Linked DNA regions of Homo sapiens: regions 1 and 3 are each linked to region 2. The links are contacts of gene promoters, found by promoter capture Hi-C in blood cells and fetal thymus (Javierre and others, 2016). All regions are on one chromosome and are shown on one strand. Each heading gives the region's core, a stretch centred on a gene start or on the middle of the fragment in contact. The rest is flanking DNA. Distances are from core to core; before and after follow the strand shown. Region 1 holds the start of PLRG1 (pleiotropic regulator 1). Region 2 holds the start of SCLT1 (sodium channel and clathrin linker 1). Region 3 overlaps SAP30 (Sin3A associated protein 30).

Evidence for each region. Contacts are between HindIII fragments. The CHiCAGO score rates a contact against its expected background, and 5 or more counts as called.
Region 1: a fragment that was not itself captured here is called in contact with the fragment with the promoter of SCLT1 in region 2 in 2 of 17 cell types (total CD4 T cells and non-activated CD4 T cells); the score reaches 7.0 in total CD4 T cells.
Region 3: a contact is called between a fragment that was not itself captured here and the fragment with the promoter of SCLT1 in region 2, in 1 of 17 cell types (non-activated CD4 T cells). The highest score is 5.5, in non-activated CD4 T cells.

The regions. Positions count from the first base shown.
Region 1 is chr4:154,545,939-154,550,505 of GRCh38, forward strand. It overlaps PLRG1 (pleiotropic regulator 1), which reads right to left and starts at 4,462. Exons shown (of 15, transcript NM_002669.4): 1 at 4,362-4,462; 2 at 2,891-2,997; 3 at 1,773-1,915; 4 at 1,073-1,126; 5 at 185-275. The coding sequence starts at 4,370. RefSeq lists an enhancer at 4,566-4,567. The HindIII fragment of the contact is 1,110 bases long and covers 779-1,888 here.
Region 2 is chr4:129,091,271-129,096,000 of GRCh38, forward strand. It overlaps SCLT1 (sodium channel and clathrin linker 1), which reads right to left and starts at 2,269. Exons shown (of 21, transcript NM_144643.4): 1 at 1,800-2,269. The coding sequence starts at 1,833. It also overlaps a transcript of C4orf33 not described here. RefSeq lists an enhancer at 1,964-2,533. The HindIII fragment of the contact is 3,346 bases long and covers 1-2,898 here.
Region 3 is chr4:173,373,028-173,377,393 of GRCh38, forward strand. It overlaps SAP30 (Sin3A associated protein 30), which reads left to right. Exons shown (of 4, transcript NM_003864.4): 2 at 363-488; 3 at 912-1,010; 4 at 4,178-4,366. The coding sequence ends at 4,300. Among named protein-coding and RNA genes, the nearest start is that of SAP30, 4.3 kb to the left of the region's middle. The HindIII fragment of the contact is 172 bases long and covers 1,673-1,844 here.

The DNA of each region.
Region 1 (4,567 bases), core at 84-2,583, about 25 Mb after region 2:
TAATATTTTCAAAGTAATTAATGCCTCCAGTCATGTATTCTGCAAAACTAACCCTTTATTTTAAATTGTTATAAAGTCCTGATAAAGGAAAATGTCATATAATAGTTATAAAGAAATTTTAAAAAGAAAAAATGTGAACAGTGAAATATGCTTTTAAGATCTTTGTAATTATAATATTTCATACTTGGTCTGCAAAGGTAATGCCACCGCTAAGGACTGTGCAGCTGATTCACTTGGCATTCTCTGGATCTTAGTATCTGCTGTCAAAGCAACCCCTATTAAAATGAAAAATCAACTTCTTTTAGTAGCTGTGTATTATTCATTTACATGCACTTAAAATAAAATGATGAAGGAAAACATACACCAAATGTTTATTATCTCCAGGCAGTGATATTATACAAATTTGATTAAGTTTTGCTCATCTTTGTTTTTAATTTCTACAATAAATACTGCTTAATAACACGTAACTCAAATTTGATTTGATCACAGCCCACATGGTATTAAAGCAGCCCAGAATAGTAAAGTTAATTTCCATTATATTTGGGTATTAGTTTCAAGTCAGTATTAAGCAGTTCCTCAAATACTAACAGAATGTTTCCAAGAGTGGATGTAACTTACTAAAACTAGAAACACCCAATTTCCCTGTACTTTCTTTACATACTAAGCCTTTTGTCCTCTACCCTGTTACACTGGCCACTCCATCTGTGGACCAATGCCTTAATACAGACAGAGGACATGTTTCTCAGATACTGCTTCTAACATTTCCATCATTTTTACAAGCTTAGTGATATTTACATGTCTGCCTAAACCACCAGATAATAAATAACTAGGCCTGCAACAGTTTTACTGTCTTTGAATTCCTAGCACATTGCCTGAAAAATTATACGTACTTAAGAATGTTTGCTGAATGAAGGCATATGAGTATTCATTATTACCTACAAAGCTATGCATGGATGCTTGGCTACTGAGCTTATCTTGCATTTTATAGGCAACAAGAATCTCATTATTGGCTCGTTAGTGAAAATATATGTGACATTTTTAAGACATTTTCAATATATAACAGCTCACTAACCAGGTCCTGGTGGGTATGGATGTGTACCTGCCACAAAGTATTCAACTTCTTGTCCTAAAAAAACACAAAAAAAATCAACAGTAGTGAATTTACCTTATACAAAAGTTATCATCTCTTTAAATGTATCAAGTAATATTAAGTTTTCAACTGGATCTATCAAATTTTCTCAACTAAAGTCAAGCCTCAGAAATAAGGGAAGTTGATCACTTTTGCTTTGATCTCTGTAAACCATGTCCTTGACCATTTGCTATATAGCAATGGTATACAAAGAAGCCCTCCTATCAAGTGACAATCCACTCTGGTATTTCTTCCAAGCAAATGGTTTCCTGTGGAATCTTGAATTCTCTTTACTTATTAAGATTTCAGTATTTAATTTCATCTTTCTGAATTACAGACAAGATAGATGGTGTCCTCACAGGTTAAGAATATTCTCCAATTTTTTCCTTTAATCTCTACTGTGACCTTCTCCACACTCTAAGAATCTCTGCCATCATTATACTACCATTTTTATTTCCTATAAGAAAAAAGTCATCAACAGTATTCCCATGAGGATCAAAACTTCCATTATAATACAGGTACGGCCATTAAATACTGTACGACCACAATAAGTCCTGCCAGGAGGGGCAAAAATAACATATTTTATTTTTCTGTTTTTAAAATTCACATATAAGTCTGACATTTCTGATAATACCATACTCACCTTGATTGGCAGGGTACTGTTTATGAACATATGAATCCGTTGCATTCTGAGGACCCTTCTCTTTAAGATTTTCTTTTGAAGTAGGCATATGCAACACAGGACCATACTCATTACGAAGCTTGATTGCCATTTTTCGTTTGTGACTATTTAGAAATTATAAACATAAGAACGTATCCATAAATACTTTAAAACAAACACTTAGCTTAAGTTTGCCCATTCACGTAGAAAAAGTTTCTAGTATGATTTTAAGTAGTATTTAAAAGAATCAAAAATTTCCAAGGGCATTTCCCCACCATATCTGTTCTTTTGCTTACATTCGACCACACAGCATTCATTAAACCTACGTAATATTTTAGTTTGTTACCTAATAAATAGAAAACCTTTTATGATAAATTGTCAAGGGTCTGACTGAAAGATATACAGAAACTAACATACCCTTTAAGAAACCTCAAAGTCAATATACTTTCCTTCAAAATATAAATATAGTAAAAACTCTATAGCAACCTTTACTAGATGTATCCAAACAGGTTAGTTAGAACTAATCAAAGTACTTAATTGGTTCAATATCTTAAAAAGAAATGCATTTATATTACTTTTAAAAATAGTCTACTTTATAAATTAAATATAAATGCTTGTTTGAGGAGTTAAGTAGATTTTAAAAAGGTAAAGGACAAAGAAGGAACACTGCACATAATGCATTCCCAGACTGGAGCTGGATATGTAGAACCAAAAATATGCCACCACTCAAAAATCTTCATCATACTAACGAGAAAAGATGGGAGTAGAGGTACTAGCCAGGTACAATTTCAGCTCAGCAAGGCTCTGAGAGCAGCGGGAAGCTGAAAGCACATACAAAGTGATTGATTATAAAATAAAATACCTAAAAGGGACTCTCTTAATTACTGGGTATTTGTAAAATGCAATTAATTAATGGAACTTTTACTGTAAAAGGCCAAAAAAAAAAGTTAAATCAGCTTAAATTATGCCAAAACACCACTCATTATTGAATAATTAGCCCATGACTAGCTTATCTTTAAAGGACTCCCTCTCCCTGCTCTCTTCCCCTAGTATTAGAATGTTAAGTATTTTAGCAATTGAAAAAAAAAAACTACACCAACCTCTCTTCATCTAAAGGCACAGGTTTTCCATTATCAGCTACAAACATGTCATGGGTCCTCTTCAACGACCTGAACACAAGGGTGTGTACAGAATGTTTCTGTACCTCCTAAAAAAAAAGAATGTAATTACACACCTATCTACAAATTACACAAATCATAACCTAAAGTCAGATTGATTATACACTTCACGTGTTTAAATATGTAAAAAGCTTTATACCACTCACCATAGCTACTTGTTGCAAGCTACAGGAGTCAAGTTCAGAGAAGAGGAGGAAGCTCCTCTTTGGCTAGAACCTCAGGTTTAGCAACTGAGTGATGCCGGAGTTTAACTTACTCAATAAATATTTACTGAGCTCCTACTGTGTGTCTGGCAGGTATTGTGCTAGAATCTCACAATAGAATGATAAAAAGGTGGTCATGGTCCCTGTGCTCAAGAGGAAACAGACAAATAAAAAGTAAAATAATTCCACATTTTGATAAGTGCTATGAAGGCAACAAGCAAGGCGCTGAGTCAGGGAATGAAGGACTAAGTATAATTGTGAAAGATTTCACTAAGGTGATATTTAAGCAGAAAGGGAGTTAGCCTTGCACAAAACAGAGGTAAGAACGAACCAGGCTGATGGAAATGTCATGTAAAAAAAAGTTCAGTTAACTGAAATAATACAAGGAGCGCAGTACAGCTGTGTATGGAGGATGAGATGGTGCTTTGTAGCTGCAAGGGTAGACAAGGTCCAGATTAGGTAAGGTCTTTTAGACTATTACAACAGCCTATATTTTGTTCTAGCAACATAGGGTCAGTAAAGGGTTTTAAACAAGAAAGGTATGAACAACTTACGTTTTAAACAGAACAACTTATAGAACAAAATGGAAGCAAGGAAACCAACCAACGGGGAGCTAATGCACCAGTCCAGGTGAAAGATGATGTTGGTCTCAATTAAGGTGGACTGCAGCGGATATGGAGAAGAGTGAATGGAATCAATAAACATGTGGGGTAAGATGGACAAGACCAGCTAACAGCGTTGGCTGTTCATGCCAGGGAAAGATGTAAAGAACGGCAAGTTTTTCTGGGGGTAGAGGTGAAATAAGAGACGACCTGAACGCAAGATAGAGAAGACTACCAATCTTTTAGGGCACAGACTCACTGACACTGCCCCGAGGGCGGCAAGTACCAGTGGTCGATCACCAACAGAGGCCCCGCCTCCGAGGACACTTTCCAGCTCCCAAGAGTCAAACGAGGACTGGACGAATTATCTCAGGCTTCGCGCCCAGGCTGAACCTCCGACTCGGGTTCTCATCCGGCTTCTACCCCTTCCCCGAAAACCCGAAGAAGAGACCACTCGGCCTTGGCCAAATAGCTCCCCTCGTAGCCTCTTTTCTCTCTGGACTCCAAGTACTCTCAATCCCCCACGCGCACTGCCAAAAAAAACAGTCCAGAGACAAACGACTCTTGAGAGCCCCAGTGTCACTTTACCTCGACCATGATGCTACCGTGTATCCCACCTCCGGCAGGGAAGAAACTCTAATCACTAACGCAGTACCCGCCGCCACAGCTGTGCAGCACCTTCCGGAATTGGGCGCCCAGGCGGCGGATGTGATGCAAGCTCTGCGCACGCGCGCTAGTCTCCCTCGGCCATCTAGGATCAGGAGGCGGGTCTCCCTCCTCGGGACCGCCTCTAG
Region 2 (4,730 bases), core at 1,019-3,518:
ATCAGTTATTTTAAGCCTTTGAACCATTCCTTCTTCTGCTCCTTCTGCTTGAGATTTCCTTCTTGCACTCCACTTGTCTTCCATGGAACTATTAAATACCACTCATTTTTAAAAAAATGTTACTATGCTTCAGTTGTCTTATTTGTTTTCCCCTGGTATTTGGATCTCAGTTTTATCTAAGAATTCTGGCTGGATCATTCTTATAAAATTAATAGTTTCTGACCACCTCAAGTACTATCCTGACTCTAGCCAAACTCCTCATCAACCAATTCCTGTCCCACACTACTCTTACGGTGGCCAGTTAGCTGTTCTTATGGGGTGGGGATATTCCCACTGCAAACCTAAGAAATAATGCTAATGTTATTGTGTCATTATAGTGTCATTAATTATTTTAGATAACATATACCATGCACTTAATATGTGCCAGACACTATGCTCAATGCTTTTTCATCATCTCATTTAAGTCTCACAACTTCAAGAGGATTCTTGTGTTCTTATACTCATTATATAAATGAGAAAACTGAGGTGCAGAAAAGCTAGGAAACTTGCTCGAGGTCACAGACCTGGAAAGAGGTAGGCTGTGAGCCCAGACAGACTAAATCCAGAGGCTGACTGAGTTCTTAACCACTGGTCTATAATGCTACCAAAACGGAACTTACTACCTTTTTCCTAACTTCCCCGTTGCTCAAGCAAAAACTAAGTTGCTCTCTACCTCTTTCTCTCAAATCCCCTGATCTCCAGTCTCCCTGTGCCCAACTTAGTTTACTTCTTACCTGAATGATGACAGTAGACAACTAACTGCACTCTGCTATAATGCATATTCCCCGTAAAAATCAGACCGGGCCTTCTAAACTACAATTTGATCATGCCACTCTCAACTGAATTCCTATAACCCATGCAATGGTCCATACTCCTTAGCACAGAGAAGACAGGGCCCTTCACCATCCAGCCCCTTTCTACGCCTTCAACTGCACTTGCCATTTCCCTATATAAATATTCCAATTCAATTTACATCAATATTACACTCAAACCAGCCGTATTGCAAGTCTTTAACAAAGCATATTCCTAATCCCCTCAGTGTCACAAATATTGTTCTATTTGGGATGCCTAGAGTTTTTCATATAGTAAATTCATATTTGTACTGCACGTTTCAGCCCAATAGCACCTTCCTTGAACATATTTTAATAATAATCGTGTAATAGTTAATATTTGTTTAACACAATGTATCAGATACTATTCTAAATCCTTTACATATTTTAATATTCATTTAATCTTTCCAACAACCCTATGAGACTGTGGCAAAAGAGCCAGCAGTTGCTGTCACTTCAATATATTTTGGAATACATTTCCCTCCCCAAATTAAATTCTTGGAGGTAAAAACTGTCCTGTTTATCTTTGCAGCAGCTGTTCTTCCATAGTGTCTGGTACATAATAGAAACAGGAGTTCAATAAACATCTTTTTAATAAATGGCCAGAGAGCTGTGCCCCTAGATTTTAAATGCACACTTGGAAACTCCTGCTGGCCATTAGCCTTCTAATCTTCAGAGCACGAGAGGAGCATAACAAACATGTTTAGCGTCTAGTAGAATTCTGTGTAAGCTACAAGTACTACCACACGGTTCTGCTTAAATATACACACATCCTCACGTATAACATCAAGGTTTTTTTTTTCCTGCAACTAACTTCTTTAACTCTTTACCAATTTAAATGTACCCAACCAGCATTCAAAAAAGATTTGTCGGTCAACGACGACGATATTAAACATTGTATATGAAGTCTCAAAAAAACATGGAGCTTACTTTGCTCTCTCAGAAAGTCGATTTCTGCAGCCATTTCGATACAATTTTAGTTTAGAGCTTTCACCACCTTTACCTTCCTCTGAAAGACAGAGAGCTTGCTGTGCGGGAAAACAAAACTAAGCCAACGCTCGGTTGGTTGTCAAGCGCTCCAGCGGTGCAATCTGCATCCTACTCACGCGGCATCTACAGCCCCGCCACGCTTCTTTCCCCCGCGCCCCAGACGAGTCCCTGGCCCTGGTGAGAGACTGAAGATTGCTGGGGACTCCACGTTCAACCGAATCCCACGCTGGTGGGAAGAGGACGCGGTCGATACAGGCGTCCCGCGGGTCACTCTGGGTCTCGTCGGGCCACCTAGGAGAGTGCCGCGGGAGCTTGACGGCAGCCTGAGAGCGGCGTTCTACGCGGAGCGGCGGGGGTTGGAGAGGACAACGCCAAGACGGCTGGGAAGCCCCAGGCCAGCAGCGGAAGTCCACTCGGCCCGCCCTGCGACTTTGAAACCGGTGCCCCGGACCACTCCTTGGAGACGGTGGCGCCTCTTGCGTCATCACGCGGGCGTTGGAGCTTACGCCATCGCGCGTCCTAGAGTCCTAGCACGCTATTGGCTGGCTGTCAAGCAATGGGAGGAGTCGTGAGAACCTGGATGACAGCGGGCTGAGCCACCGGCTTGGCGCGGCGGCCAAACTGGTGGGACAGTGTCTCCAGGTAGTGAGGCCCAACCTCTTTAAAACAAACAAACAAACAAACAAAAAACCAAAATGCAAACGTGAGTAGAGAATGAAATACACAGTTTAAATGCCCTCACTATCTTTGGGTTACTAATATACTAAGCCTTTCTGGACTAAGTAAAAGATGCAGGTTCCTGCGGCTAGGGATAGAAGCCAGACTGGCGTCTTCAGAATCTCCCACCAAGGCTGTACCTCTGGAGGAGTTCTAGGTTTGGATTTGGTCATCTCAAGAAGGTAAGTACCTTCTCGGTCTTTGTGGGTCTTTAGACAAAGGAGACAACTGTTGTTTAAATATTTAACTGTGTAGTAATAAAGCGTGTAGTTAGAAGTACTCAAAAGATCTTGCAAATTCAGCAGCTACTTCTTCAAAGATAAGCTTGTTTCCTCAAATATAAGGAAAGATAAAAGGTACTTTTTTTTGCAAAAAACAAAACGGTAAAACTTACATTTGTGGATAGATTACAATTTTCATTTTTGAAAATTAATTTTGTCTGGACTTAAAACGTATTTTTTTAAAAAAAATCATTTAACATTAGAGGAAATCTCACCACTAGCAACAAAAATGTTAACTTGAAGCTAGCCACTAGTTTTGTGCTTTTAATAAATTGTATTTTTATGGACTGAAGTAAAGTTTCACTAAACAGGCATGTCATAGATGCAGCTTGATTTGGCTTTCTGTTTAACGGCTTAAGAGTTTTGTTGTCCCGTACTCATAATGTCATATAAACAAAGTAACCTTAGCGATATGTGTTAAGAAATTTTAAAAATGTATTCAAATATATGCAGTTAGGCATCTGAAGGCCTTACTCAATACTCACTGTTAATAGAATGAGATGGTCCCTTCCTCTAAAGACTAGCTGTTAAATATGGATGTGTAGCTTAATAATCATTGAAAAGGTCTAATCCAGCTTTGAGTTGGTGATAATTGAACTTGTTCTGATTTTTAGTAGCTATAACGTTTACACAAAAACTTTTTGTATAAACGTTATAGCTAAGGGAAAATTGAGTGTGCAAGGTCCAACTCGTTTTTGAAGTTCAGTATATGACTCTTTCTTCATAAACATCTCACTGACTCTCCAAGGACTTGCTTGTAACTTCTCCCACATTTGAACCTTGTATATTGTCGTATTTCTACTTGGCATCAAATAAATAATTATAGACTTAACTCTACGCTTACACCCAAACTGGATGGAAGCAAATACCTTCTGGCTATAACTGATGAGTGGTATTTACATAAAGTGAATATCTCAGGTGAAAACTTTTATGTCTGCACTCGAATTTTTTAGCTTACATGATCATAATTATGATCATGATAGTTTTTTGTTTTTGCGTTTGTGTTTGTGGTTACAAGATTTTAGTAGTTGAATTTTAATGGAGTATTTTCAACATAAGTTTCATCATTAGGAAACAAAATTGTGATGATTTCACTTATCCTTAAAGGATCCCCTCTCATGTTCCTCCTTTTCACATCTCCTGAGTTCTTTATCCACTTCTCCCAAGGTAGGTGCCACCTTAGTACTTACTTCATGCTCCTTCCTGCATTATCTGTCATGTTTTGTAGTTTGTCTCCAGGCTCCATCATAATACCTGGAACACAGAGTTGATTAAATATCTGATGGAAGGAATGAAAGAATTCAGTGGATGTTCATGAAAAGTATCTATTAGTATAAATTGAATACAAGGAATGACAAGCAGAAATGTATGTAGTTTGTGTGTAACTCTTGTCAAGCCACCATTTAATGTTTTTATATGACTTTTCTGCAATAAAGAAAACCCCTAAAGTTGTATAGATTGAAAATTAGTGACATTTCACTAACATTCATTTGGTTGATCAATTGACATTGAGCACCCAGTACTATGTGCAAAGTACCAGGAAGAATACAAAGTTAGAAGTTTAAGCAAGGATCAGAACAGATCACACAGCTGGCAAGTGCCTGAGTTGAGATTTGAACCCAGGCAGTATGGTTCTAATTTCACAATTGTTAACTGCTATGAACATGCCTCCCCAGGAATATAGTATAATATAGTTTATAGCTGGTATAATATAATTTATAGTTTTTGCTTATATGGCCAGTTAGCCTTTAGTTGTATTAAATGAAATATTTCTGTACATGTTATATTGTAATCTTAATGATTTACAGTTGATTTTCAAATTATTGCACAGTATTTATATTTCTGAATCACCCTTCCTTCTTCTAGGAAACCA
Region 3 (4,366 bases), core at 509-3,008, about 44 Mb after region 2:
CCCGCCTTGGCCTCCCAAAGTGCTGGGATTACAGGCGTGAACCACCGCGCCCAGCCCCTCACTGCAATTTGATGACAAAACCCAGAGGGTTGGAATTTCTCATTCTCCTCTCCCTCCCTCCCTTACCCCCTTCCCCAGATGGAACCAACCCCTCCTTCCCCATCCACCATCCTTTTAACAGTATTCCAGACATCTTATGTTTTAGCGTATAGGATTTAAACGTATAAATATTCCATTATCTTAACAATGGCCCATCTTGGCTGTCTTTATTTTTAAGAACTCACTGTGGCATATGTGTTTTACTAATACATAGACACATTTTACTGTAATCATAAGCAGTGTGTAAAACTTTTCTGTTTCAGGCAAGGCATCTTTACATATGTGATTATCATAAAAACTTAATTCAGAGTGTTCGAAACAGAAGAAAGAGAAAAGGGAGTGATGATGATGGAGGTGATTCACCTGTTCAAGATATTGATACCCCAGAGGTAGATGGAAGTTTTTTATGCTTAATGTAAATCCTAAGTAGTGCATTCTGAAGCCTTTATAAAAAGATATGAACAATCTTTTAAGTGTTTAAAACATTTGAGAAATCTGAAAATGAAAGCAAAATTAAATATAGCCAGTTGACATGCATTTACACAGTTTGAATTGTTACATTTTAGATTGACAATTTTTGCAGCTCTGTTGTCACATAACTTACTCTTTTTTTGACCTCAGTTTATATTATTTATCCCCAAAAGATTAAATTCTTTAATAATTTATGTTGGATTATATAAATTTTTTAAATTTTTTTTGATTTTGGAAGTAAATTTTATTGTGCTGAAGTTAAAATGTTTGTTATTATACATATCAATGATAAATTTTCAACAAATTGTATGAACTCATTTATACATGTTAATTTTTTCTAGGTTGATTTATACCAATTACAAGTAAATACACTTAGGAGATACAAAAGACACTTCAAGCTACCAACCAGACCAGGACTTAATAAAGCACAACTTGTTGAGGTATATATGAGTTTTAAACTATTTGAACTATCTGCACAACCGAGAGGTTATTAAGTGCTAATGGAAGTTTTAATGTAGTGTATGTAACAGTACATTTTAATTAGAAAGAACAAAGTTAAAAAATCTGTTGTGGAAGAATCTAGTTGTGTAGAAATGTTTGTCTGCCACTTAGGAAATTCCTTTTTGTAATGACTGCTTAGTAGATTGTGTACAGCACCTTCTGATACTGGCTTTCAAAATGTGTTGATTGTTTTTTGAGACAGAATCTCACTCTGTCACCCAGGCTGGAGTGCAGTGGCATGATCTTGGCTCATTGAAACCTCTACCTACCAGGTTCAAGCAATTCTCCAGCCTCAGCCTCCCAAGTACCTGGGACTTCAGGTGTGCACCACCACACCAGGCTAATTTTTGTATAATATTTTTAGTAGAGATAGGGTTTCACCATGTTGGCCAGACTTGTTTCAAACTCCTGACTTCAAGTGATCTGCCCACCTCAGCCTACCAGAGTGCTGGGATTACCAGTGTGAGCCACCGTGCCTGGCCCTCAAAATGTTGAATGAGAGTTTTTTTAATCCTCACTTTAGAAATCTATTAATTTTAAAACTCCGTTTAACCAGTAAACATTTGAGCACCTAATTGAGGCATAATAAAATTAATTAACAAGCTTTAATGTCCTTATTAGAATTTATATTTTAAAGTGGTGGAATAGGCCTACAAATCAGACCCTAAACAGTATTTTTATAATTTGCTGACTTAACTATTTCAAAATTTGTCCTTGTTGATGTTTGTTTTATTAGAGACATCCATGTTTTTTTCACATCTAGAAGAGGCAAAAGCTTTTCTTTTACCCAAGCTTTTACTTGTAGTTTGCTTTGATAGAGGACTTCTAGTCAGTCACTGAGTTGTGAAAAGTTAACGGAGCATGCATATGTTTTCAGGATATAATAGAACCAAGAAATCTGTGCATCTTATTAAGATGTTTATAGATTTATATATATATATTTTAATCATATTTAAAATAAAAATTTTTACTTGCAGCTACTGAGGAGGATTGATTAAGCCTAGGAGTTTGAGTCACCATGGGCAACATAGCAACACTCCATCTCTAAAAAAAGAAAATTTGGCCTACTAGACAAAATAGAAGTGTAGAAATATAAATCAGTTTTCTCATATTCTTTGCATGGATTTAGTAGTTACCCAACATTTTCTAAAATGTGCCTATTGAATAAAATGAAATATGAATAGAAGTTACATTTATTTGGCAGAATGCTTTTTAACATTGTTAAAATCTAATATATTAACTATTTAGCTAAAATTTTTTATCCTTGGTTGGGCAACACAGATCTAATTAATTTTTCTTTAATTTTGATTTAAAAGATCAAGTTCTTTTGGGGTTGTACAATACATTAATGTAACATAAATATAGTTATTGCCCACCATGATGAAATATTTCAATAGGTACTAATGGAGTGAAGGCACCCCTGTTTTGGGACAAATGAGAACCAAAGAACTGATTATTTTAAATGTTATATTTAGGTATAAATTAAACCTGTAATTTTTGATAAACTGACCTTCTAAGAACAGTTATATTATTTCCAGAGCTATTTTCTTTTTTATACATAAGAGATAGCCATGAGTGTTATATTTTACTTAATCAGAAATGCAGATATTAGCAAGTTAAGGAATGTGCAGATGTAGTACATATATTTTAAGAGAGGGGTCCCCAACCCCAGGGCCATGGACTGGTACTGGTTGGTGGCCTGTTAGGAACGGGTCCGCAGAGCAGGAGGTGAGCACCAGCTAGCAAGCATTACTGCCTGAGCTCCGCCTCCTGTCAGATCAGCCACAGAATTAGATTCTCAGAGGAGTCCAAACCCTCTTGTGAAGTGCACATGTGAGGGATCTAGATTGTATGCTTGTTATAAGAATCTAATGCCTGATGATCTGAGGTGGAACAATTTCATACCAAAACCAACTCCGCCACCCTCAATCTGTGCAAAAATTGCCTTCCGTGAAATCTATCTCTGGTGCCAAAAAGGTTGGGGACCACTGTTTTAAGGGAATCCAGGGTTGTATGACTAAGTCTTAAGTCTCTTAATTATTGTGTGGATGAACTTTTTTCTTAAGAAATTTTATTTTCTGGAATCTAAATATGCATGTCAGCACCCCAGGTAAGTCTATTATTCTTCTATTAGTAATTGTAGTATGCATGTTATGTTAGCACAATGAAAAAGCAAGGAAGCAGGTAAACATCCTTCATTGAACATCCCTCTTTCTCCTCTCATTTCCATTCATAATTTTTATTCAGAAAAATTTTCAAGGAACCTTAACCAAAGAATGCTACCAAGGTGTGAATGAATGAATATAATTTGCAGCAAACAATTTATATGTTATTGTTGGTTTCTCTACTAGCAAAAGTTTTCAACTTCATACTTCTTTTTCTATCAGTAGAGTCTAAACCATTGCAGGTTTAATGATGCATGTGATCTCTTACGTCTGTTTTATCTCATTTAAAGTTTAAAAGTAAAATCATTTATTCCCTATTCTAGATTCTAATTATAAAATTTATTATTTTTATTTTATTTATTTATCTTTTTTTGAGACAGAGTCTTGCTCTGTTGCCCAGGCTGAAGTCCAGTGGCATGATCTCAGCTCACTGCAACCTCCACCTTCTGGGTTCAAGCAATCCTCCTGTCTAAGCCTTCTGAGTAGCTAGGATTACAGGTGTACACCACCAGGCCTATCTAATTTTTGTATTTTTTTTGGTAGAGATGGGGTTTCGTCATGTTGCTCAGGCTGGTCTCAAACTCCTGGGCTCAAGTGATCCACCCACCTCTGCCTCCCAAAGTGCTGGGATTACAGGCATGAGCCACCACGCCTGGCCCAATTATAAAATTTAAAATAAATAAAAGGAAAATATATTTTCTAATCAATGTATATTAAATTGAGTGGGTCAAAGGGTCCTTTGAAATCACACTATCTCTTGTTCGTAACATTTTATTCTTGAATGCTTTCTGTCTTGTTGATATTTTGTTAAATATAATTTTTAAAGGAAATAGCCCTTATCACATAGCACTTTTTCTTTTGATGAAACCGTATTTTTTACGTAGTTTATGAAACCTGTTATATCTAAAATTTAATTTCCTTAATTTTTCTTTTCTTTGTAGATAGTTGGTTGCCACTTTAGGTCTATTCCAGTGAATGAAAAAGACACCTTAACATATTTCATCTACTCAGTGAAGAATGACAAGAACAAATCAGATCTCAAGGTTGATAGTGGTGTTCACTAGGAGACGTGGAATTGAGACTAATAACTTGGATGTTAACACTGTTTACTGTTTTTTCACATGTAGAAA